3 separate regions of the Homo sapiens genome follow, and regions 2 and 3 are each linked to region 1. Evidence: promoter capture Hi-C in human tissues and cell types (Jung and others, 2019). All regions are on one chromosome and are shown on one strand. Each heading gives the region's core, a stretch centred on a gene start or on the middle of the fragment in contact. The rest is flanking DNA. Distances are from core to core; before and after follow the strand shown.

Region 1 (3,055 bases), core at 405-2,904:
TTCCAATAACTCCTTCTTAAGCCCCCAGAAGTCCCTGTTACACAAACCTTATCTGTTTTGGGATTTTCAGAAAGCATTTCTCTCCGTTTGGTCATCCTCCCTTGGCCAGACCAGAGGGTGCCCACTTGTTCACACGCTGCCCGCTTCCGAATCCCAGAAGGCGGAGCCTGGCCTGTTTGTGAGAATGGGATGGACTCGTTTTTTAAAAGGCCAAGGGGAGTGCAGGAAAATCCGACCGGGCGGAGCACGCCCTGGGTAACAAGATCTGTTTTTCTGGAAGTGCGACCGGCCTCTTCTGCCCCATTCGCTCCTCTGTGACACAAATACTTGGGGAAAGCGCAGGGCTCGGACAGCGAGGGTGTGGGGCGCTGGCTGGTGCTGCTCTTAGAGAATGTTTTCTCTTGTTCTCAAGGAAGGGTCCAGTTTCTGATGAAAAACAAGCTCAAGTCCCAGCGGCGAGTACAGGGAGTGAGGTCAGTGCTGCGCTGACGACATGGGTGGAGCGACCTCTCTGCTCCAACAGGACAATGTGGAACCCATTATCATTTCCAGCAGGAGGGAAAACGAAGCGCAGACTTTACACACTCAGCTCTCTCCCCTCCTTCCATGAATCCTATCTTTACAGCCCCAGCCCGAGCCACGCTTTCAAATGCAAACATAATTCAATCAGATTTAATTCTGACCTGCTAGCTGCTGGAGAGGAGACCGACTTGCCCCCCAGCAAAAGGGACTTTCAAGACTGGTTCCTGTCTGGAATGCACAAGAGGTGGCCTATATTAACCGCGGGACACGAGCAATCAGATTCTTCTGTGCAATTCAGATTAGCCAAACACTTGACAGGCGACAGGGCAGGGCAGGATGGTCCGCAGCCCCGCCAGGGCCCTGCCAACCCCACCAACAGGCTCCTCCTGCGAGGCCCCAGGAGCTCGGCTCAGCATCTGTTATCTTGGATGCAGTATTTGTCGAGGGGCTGGAAATGGTACATAAATAGCCGGGAAACAATGCTTTGAGCTGGCGCACGAGTGGGGATCGGGCTGCAACCGGGACGGGGTATGTGCAGGGGACGTCTCGCCGGCCCAGGTGGGAGAGCGCGCGGAACCCTGCGCCCCGCTCCCCCGCTGCGCCCCGCTCCCCCGCTGCGCGCCCCGGACGAAGCTCCCCCTCCAGGGCACAGCCGGGAAAACTGAGGGCCGAGAGTCCCCTGGAGTTGGGGGTCCGGGGCCCACGCGGACAGCCAGGCTCAGGAGCTCTCGGGGGTCGGCAGCGCGGACCCCCGGATCCCCGCAGGCTGGGCCGCCCTTGCCCGCGCTAGCCGGCCTCCGGGTACCGCCCCCCGGTCCAGGCCGGGGCCCGACAGCCAGTCGGTTCCCATGGCAACTGGGCAAACCTGCCCTCCGCGCCCCGACCAGCGGCCGGGAGTGTCCCCGAGCGCGCCCCGCGGCCTCCGCGCCCCAGGTCCCCGGCAGCGGCCGAGCAGCGCCCCTTACGAGCCACCCCCGGTTCCGCAGTCACTCCTCGCGCACCCCACACTCACCTCCGGCACAACCCGCCGCGCCGCCACGTTCCCGCGCTGCTCCCACCCGCCGTTGGCTGGGGCCGGCGCCCAGACCCGCGCGTGCCGCGGCGCCTCCTGCCGGCGGCGCAACGGGCGGGGCGGGGCCTCAAGGGGACGGGGCCACAAAGGGTGGGGCGGGGGAGAACAGGTGGGCTGGAGCTGGGCCTCGGCGCCCAATAGGCAGAAAGAAAGCCTCGAGGAGGCGGGGTCTCCAGGAGAGGGGCGGGGCCAACCTGCTAGAAAAGGCGGGCTGTGCTCTGGCGCCTCCTGCCGGCCGCCCAATGGACGGGGATGCAGCCTCGAGGGGGCGGGGCCTCACCGGAGAGGCGGGGTTTTGAAGAAAGGGGTGGGGCTGGTTGTGGAGAGGCGGGACTTGCAGCCCACCCACAGACTGCAGCTTAAGGAGGGGGGGTCCCCGGAGGAAGGGTGGGACCAGTTCTAAGTCCCTGAGCTGCTTGTGGGCTCTGGGCTCCTGCGGTTGGGTGGGCTATTTCGAGACAGCACCTTCTAGTAGCCCAGTGAGTGGGTGTAGGGGAGGGTAGAGCTGTGCCCCCAATTAATAAACATCTTCTAAGACATCGAAAAGGAACAAGGGAGGAATTTCCTCTCCCCTACCATCTGTCTCCCACCCAGAGTTTTAAAAGACAAATCAGGTCATGGCATTCCTGCTTACAATTATGCAAAAAAATGACCAGGTCAGCTCTGGGGCTCTGGCCCCAACTGCTCTCCCTGGGGACTTGTTTAAAAAGCAGCTCGTGACCTCGGCACTTTGGCTGGGGTTTTCCCTTTGAGGAATGTGGGCTAGACCTGGGAGATTCAGGTGGTTCGGAATATCAATATGCAGAATGTGGGCCTCGGGAGTGAACCTTTTTGTGGACAGCTATCGTGGTATGATTTCCGTAGTCATGACCCCATATTCGCGATGGAGGTCGGAGCAGACATTGATGAGTGTGGGAACAGACATTTATTGACCACCTGTGTGCCAGGCCCTAGGCAACTTTACCTAGGTCACCTCACTTAATGCTCACATCAATTCTTGTGAGACAGAGATGTCTGAGACATTCCAGGCCTCCCCTTTCCTCCACCTATCACCTGCTAATCCTAAAGTCCACCTCCTAAACCTTTTCTAATAAAAAATAGTGCCTCAAAGTCAACACAGAGAGACAGATTTGAGCCAGGCTCCTGTCTCCTTATTGATCAACTCACAATACGGACAAAAAAAGCTTTTGTCTCAAAAACTTAATGCAGTAAGATTGGCTTTTTTTTTTTTTTTTTTTTTTTTTTTTTTTGGAGACAGAGTCTTATTCTATTGCCCTAGCTGGAGTGCAGTGGTGTGATCTCAGCTCACTGCAACCACCACCTCCCAGGTTCAAGCGATTCTCCTGCCTCAGCCTCCCGAGTAGCTAAGGTTAACAGGCACCTACCACCACGCCCACCTAATTTTTGTATTTTTAGTAGAGACGGGGTTTTGCCATGTTGACCAGGCTGGTTTTGAAATCC
Region 2 (3,055 bases), core at 211-2,710, 170 kb after region 1:
CTGTGTTATAGTGGCTTATCATATTAATAGATTTCCAAATATTAAACTAGTCTATATTATTGGAATAAGTCCCATTTGGCTATTGTATATTATGTTTTTAATCTGGTACTGGATTTTGTTTGATTATGTTTCATTTTGGGTTTTTGTATTGATGTAAGTGGTATTGGCATGTAATTTTATGTTATTTATTGGTTGATCAGTCTTCTAACCCCTACTACCTCCTTGCCTTCTGGACTAACTTAACCCAGAAGGTTATTACTCTCTCTCGGTGATTTTATCAGCTCCTGTGGCCTGACTGTGGATAAGCTTGGATGTTCTGCTTTAGTTTCTCAGCCCACAGCCTAGCGGCCCTGCCTCTGCTATCTCTTGGGATCTACATGGTCCTAGCTGTATCACTGGATTTGAACCCCTTGTTGATATGTTCTTTATAAATAATAGGATAATGCAGCCTGCTTACTGGGCACTTCCTTTTTCTAAACTACAAGTTTGGGCAGGGCGTGCTGGCTCAAGCCTGTAATCCCAACACTTTGGGAGGCCAAGGCAGGTGGATTGCTGGAGCCCAGGAGTTTTGCATTTTTCTTTTTTTTTTTTTTTTTTTTTGAGACAAGGTCTCACTCTGTTGCCTAGGCTGGAGTGCAGTGTTGCATTCACAGCTCACTGCAGCCTTGACCTCCCAGGCTCAAGTGATCCTCCTGCCTTAGCCTCCCAAGTAGCTAGAACTACAGGCGTGTGCCATGATGCCCAGCCAATTTTTTTTTTTTAATTTATTTTTAGCAGAGATGAGGTCTTACTATGTTGCCCAAGCTGGTCTCGAACTCCTGAGCTCAAACGATCTTCCCATCTTGGCCTCCCAAAGTGCTAGGATTATAGGCATGAGCCACCATGCCCAGCCCCAACCACTTAAAAATTGAAGCTGCTTCCCGTTTGCCATTGGTACTTTGTACACCTCATCATATTCTTCTTCCCCTTCATCCCATAGAATGCACAATTCATCTTTAAAGACTTCAAGTTAACTGAGTCTGTGAAGCCTAATCTGATGGCATAAAATTAAAATAATTTGATCCTCTTTTGTTAAATCATTCTGCACCTTGTCTGCATTACTCTAATAACAGCTTTGGGCATTCATTCATTTAACGAATATTTATTGCTCCAAGATTGAGATGTTTGAGATAAAACTCAGCCATGCAGATAGCCAGAGGCCACTGGCTATGAGAATAAAAGAGCCAAAAGAACAAGGAGCTGAAACTAGGTGAGAGCCCCAGAGCAGTGAGTTAGGAGGAAGAGGACCAGGAGCTGAGTGGTGGGCACTCCAACATGAAGAGGTCCAGGGCAAGGGGAGGGCCTGGCAGCAAGGAAGACTAAAAGAAGTGACAAGGAGTAAAATGCTTGTGTTTGTTTACATGTTTATCTCCTTTTTAGGTTGTTCACTTTGGGAGCAGGCATGGTGTTTCACTCATCTCATGTCCCCAAAGCTCAGCTAGTTCACTTGCAAAATAGGAGCTCAGTTGTGTTTTGGGTTTTTATTTTTGTGGGGCAATATATATATATTTTTTATATATATTATATATATTTATATATATTATATATTTTATATATTATGTATTATAACCCCAAAGGATATGTGTTTCCAATATGATTTCCCTTCCATAATCTGTAACATAAAATAAGGTATACAATGTTTATGGTTAACTTTACCGGTGGGCTTTGTAAAACGTTATCCCCCTATCCCTTTTCCGTATCTCCCAATTCTGATCATGTTGCCATTACAGGGGCCAGTGTCATTCAAAGATGTGGCTGTGGATTTCACCCAGGAGGAGTGGCAGCAGCTGGACCCTGATGAGAAGATAACTTACAGGGATGTGATGTTGGAGAACTATAGCCATCTAGTTTCTGTGGGTGAGAATAGCTTGCTTTCTGAATGCTCTCAGTTGAATGGGGTTTTATCCTTGAGTTTGAAGAAATAAGTGATGACACCATTTAATTCCTTGTGGGCACTAGCTGGAGTGTTTATATTATTATTCATTGAAAGGTTCTAACTTTGATAAGGTAAAAAATGGAGCACTTCTGTTATGCAGCTTATGAGGTGGCAACATCTTGTACTTCAGAGATTCTGAAGCCAAGCAGCTTCCCCAAGTCCTCCTTCTTTTCCCATTAACAGGATATGATACCACCAAGCCAAACGTCATCATTAAGTTGGAGCAGGGAGAGGAGCCGTGGATAATGGGAGGTGAATTTCCATGTCAACATAGTCCAGGTAAGTTAGTAGCGTATCAAAGGTTAAAAAATGCTCATCCCAGACCTTTGGGAGAGACTAAAGAGTTGTTTATATGTATTCAGTACCCTCAGTAACACCTCCCAACCCCCAAATATCACTTTCCTTCCCGCACACATACATGAACTCTTTTGTTGATTTTACATTTGATTTACATTGGTAGGGATTTTTTCATTCTAACCGGTACTGGAGACCCATTCACTTCCTCTTTCTCCAGCATTATTGGTAACTTATTTACTCCCTTGCCATTACAGAATTGTTTTGGGTTTGTTTGTTTGTTTGTTTGTTTGTTTTGGAGACAGAATCTTGTTCTGTCACCCAAGCTGGTGTGCAGTGGTATGATCTCAGCTCACTGCAACCACCACCTCACAGGTTCAAGCGATTCTCCTTCCTCAGCCTCCCAAGTAGCTGGGATTACAGGCACATGCCACCACGCCTGGCTAATTTTTATATTTTTAGTAGACACAGGGTTTCACCATGTTGACCACACTGGTCTTGAACTCCTGGCCTCAAGTGATCTGCCCACCTCAGCCTCCCAAAGTGCTGAGATTACAGTCCTGAGGCTCCCGGCCTTACAGAATTGTTTTGTTTTGGGGCATTCAGAAGTCTGACATAAAAATCAACTTGAGACTTTTATGTTCATTCCTTTTATCTTCCATTTTCTTTCCTTCCTTGCTTTAAAAATACCTTGGACTTATTTTCTGCCCTCGATTTTATTTACTTCTTTAGGCATTCAGATACCAAAACCTCATCCTCCACCTATGCTTGTGAACTGAGTCACAG
Region 3 (3,055 bases), core at 228-2,727, 160 kb after region 1:
TAAAAAATAAAAGTTGCATGACATTCAGAGACCATCCGAAAAACCTGTGGGTTCCTGGCCGGGCTCAGTGGCTCATGCCTATAATCCCAGCACTTTGGGAGGCCAAAGGGGGTGGATCACTTGAGGTCAGGAGTTAGAGACCAGCCTGGCCAACATGGTGAAACCCCATCTCTACAAAAAATACAAAAAATTAGCCAGGCATGGTGGCGGGTGCCTGTAATCCTAGCTACTTGGGTGAGGGGGTGCTGAAGAATCACTTGAACTTGGGGTGCAGAGGTTGCAGCAAGCCAAGATCACACCATTGCACTCCAGCCTGGGCAACAAGAGCAAAACTCCATCTCAAAAAAATAAAGAACTTGTGAGTGAGTTCCCACATGGCTTCGTAATGTGCTGTGGCTCTCCTAGGAGTCTCTCACTCATGGGAAAGACACAGACTGAGTGAAGAAGCAGATCCCATTGCTGTGGAAGTCCCATTGTTAGGAAACTCTGCTTTTCTGGAGTTCAAATTTGCATTCATGACGCTTTAAACCGTCAGAGCTGGGTAGGTCCTCCTACAACAAAAGAGTTTGCTCTCTCTCTCCTAGTTAACAGGCTTTCAAATATTAGAAGATCAATGTCCTGACCCCATTAAAATTGCTCTTTTGTGGAATGAAAAGCTCTGATTTAACCCGTCTTCAAGCCTGGTTTGCATATTCCCCTCTCTTCTGGCCACCTTGTCTAGACACACTACACTGAGGCCGTGCCCATCTTAAATGATGTTGATACGTTGTCAAAAAACGTAGCGAAGCAGGTGCGGTGGCTCATGCCTGTAATCCTACCACTTTAAGAAGCCAAAGCAGACAGATCACCAGAGGTCAGAAGTTCGAGACCAGCCTGGCCAACGTGTTGAAATCCGTCTCTACTAAAAATACAGAAAAAATGAGCTGGGCGTGGGAGTGCACATCTGTAATCCCAGCTACTTGGGAGGCTGAGGCAGGAGAATCGCTTAAACCTGGAAGGCAGAGGTTGCAGTGAGCCGAGATTGCGCCACTGCACTCCAGCCTGGGCGACAGAGCAAGACACTATCTCAAAAAAAAAAAAAAAAGGCTAAACAGCCCAGGTTTGGTCTGATATGTTCAGAAAAAAGCAAAACAGCCACCTCTCGCCTTCTCTTTTCCCGCAGTGATGCAGTTGAATACAGCAATGGCTGCAGGTATGCGGCAGAAATATCATTCAAGTGACACAGAAGGGCTTTCCTGGCCAGACACAGCGGTCACTCCTACAATCCCAACACTTTGGTTGCCAAGGTGGGAGGATTTCTTGCAGCCAGGAGTTGGAGGCTGCAGTGAGCTGTGATCCCACCACTGCATTCGAGGCTGGGCCTCAGAGTGAGGCCTGTCTCTAAAAAAACTCTTCACTCCCCACAAGAAGGGATTTGCAAATACCAGCCTTTCAGCACGAGGATCACATGGAGGAACATTAAGATATAGATGCTGGGACCTGGCCCTATTGATTGTAATTCAGAAACTGAGGTGGGGCCTGATTTAACCCCATCATTGGAATCCATTCAGATTTGGAACTCTCTGGGTTGAACAGTGTAAGAGAGATCCTAAGAAAGCAAAGTCACTATGGACTAAAATGAGCAGACAAGGTTTTCTTTCTTTCTTTCTTTCTTTTTTTTTTGGAGACAGAGTCTTGCTCTGCCACCCAGGCTGGAGTGCAGTGGCGTGATCTCGGCTCACTGCAAGCTTCGCCTCCCAGGTTCACGCTATTCTCCTGCCTCAGCCTCCCGAGTAGCTGGGACTACAGGTGCCTGCCACCACACCCGGCTAATTTTTTTGTATTTTTAGTAGAGACGGGGTTTCGCCGTGTTAGCCAGGCTGGTCTCCATCTCCTGACCTTGTGATCCTGCCCGCCTTGGCCTCCCAAAGTTCTGGGATTACAGGCGTGAGCCACCGAGCCCGGCCGTAGACAAGGTTTTCTGAGCATAGTGAAATATGATCTGGGCCTCACTTGGGAGGGCTGTGGCCAGGCCTTGAGTCCTTGGCTCAGTGAGACTATCTGAAACAGCCTCCAAGCTGCGCTCCCTGCTTCCTTTGCTGTTGGATGACCTCCTCCAGCGGCTTTGGTGCTGATGGGAATAAGTCGACCTGCAGAGGAAGTTCAGCCCAAGTCTCAGCCCAGCAGCCTCCCCACACCTGACCGGGGTCTGGTCATGCTGCCATCTCTGCGGTTCTCTGCAGAGTTGTGGTTTCTGTACCTTGAAGAGAATTTCCCCTTCTGGAACCCAGAAACCCAGTAAACCCTGAGGAAAAAAGCAAATGAAATTACTCTGTGGCAGGGAGATGGAAAAGAGGCTCTTTGTTTTTGTTTTTTTGTTTTTTGTTTTTTGAGACACAGTTTCACTCTTGTCACCCAGACTGGATTGTAGTGGCTCAATCTTGGCTCACTGCAAACTCTGCCTCCCATGTTCGAGCGGTTCTCATGCCTCAGCCTCCAGAGTAGCTGGGACAATAGGCACACACTACCATGCCCAGCTAATTTTTGTATTTGTAGTACAGATGGGGTTTCGCCATGTTGCCTGGGCTGGTCTCGAACTCCTGGCCTGAAGCAATCTGCCTGCCTTGGCCTCCCAAATTGCTGGGATTACAGATGATGTGAGCCACTGTGTCCAGCCCTCACTGTACGGGTTTTCTAAAAAAAAAAAGATTAAATTTGTCTTATTTGCCACAAGGTAAATTAACCTTTTCTCCTCTCCTTTTTAAAGAGTATTTCCTTGATAAACGTGGTAATATAAATAACTTTTGTGCCTTTGACATGTATCTAAATCTTTTAAAAAGGTGAATGAACTTCTTGCCAACACTACAACCCAGGAATTTTTTTTTTTTTTTTTTTTTTTGAGACGGAATCTCACTCTCACCCAGGCTGGAGTGCAGTGGTGTGATCTCGGCTCACTGCAACCTCTACTTCCTGGGTTCAAGCAATTCCCCCGTCTCAACCTCCTGAGTAGCTGAGACTACAGCGCCTGCCACCACGCCTGGCTAATTTTTGTATTTTTAGTAGAGACGGAGTTTCA

Evidence for each region. The method cuts DNA at HindIII sites, captures the fragments that hold promoters and counts their contacts. A contact is called where the count stands out against the background at its distance.
Region 2: a fragment that was not itself captured here is called in contact with the fragment with the promoter of RADIL in region 1 in 1 of the 25 tissues and cell types used here (hippocampus).
Region 3: a fragment that was not itself captured here is called in contact with the fragment with the promoter of RADIL in region 1 in 1 of the 25 tissues and cell types used here (hippocampus).

Annotation. Positions count from the first base shown.
Region 1 is chr7:4,882,062-4,885,116 of GRCh38, forward strand. RADIL (Rap associating with DIL domain) reads right to left here and starts at 1,655. Exons shown (of 15, transcript NM_018059.5): 1 at 1,535-1,655. RefSeq lists enhancers at 357-651, 381-1,069, 1,070-1,757 and a silencer at 1,467-1,686. The HindIII fragment of the contact is 17,002 bases long and covers 1-3,055 here.
Region 2 is chr7:5,055,526-5,058,580 of GRCh38, forward strand. It overlaps RBAK-RBAKDN (RBAK-RBAKDN readthrough), which reads left to right. Exons shown (of 6, transcript NM_001204513.3): 3 at 1,770-1,896; 4 at 2,159-2,254. It overlaps RBAK (RB associated KRAB zinc finger), which reads left to right. Exons shown (of 5, transcript NM_021163.4): 3 at 1,770-1,896; 4 at 2,159-2,254. Among named protein-coding and RNA genes, the nearest start is that of RBAK-RBAKDN, 11 kb to the left of the region's middle. The HindIII fragment of the contact is 6,513 bases long and covers 1-3,055 here.
Region 3 is chr7:5,039,083-5,042,137 of GRCh38, forward strand. It overlaps the pseudogene SPDYE19P. Among named protein-coding and RNA genes, the nearest start is that of RBAK, 5.2 kb to the right of the region's middle. The HindIII fragment of the contact is 4,028 bases long and covers 1-3,055 here.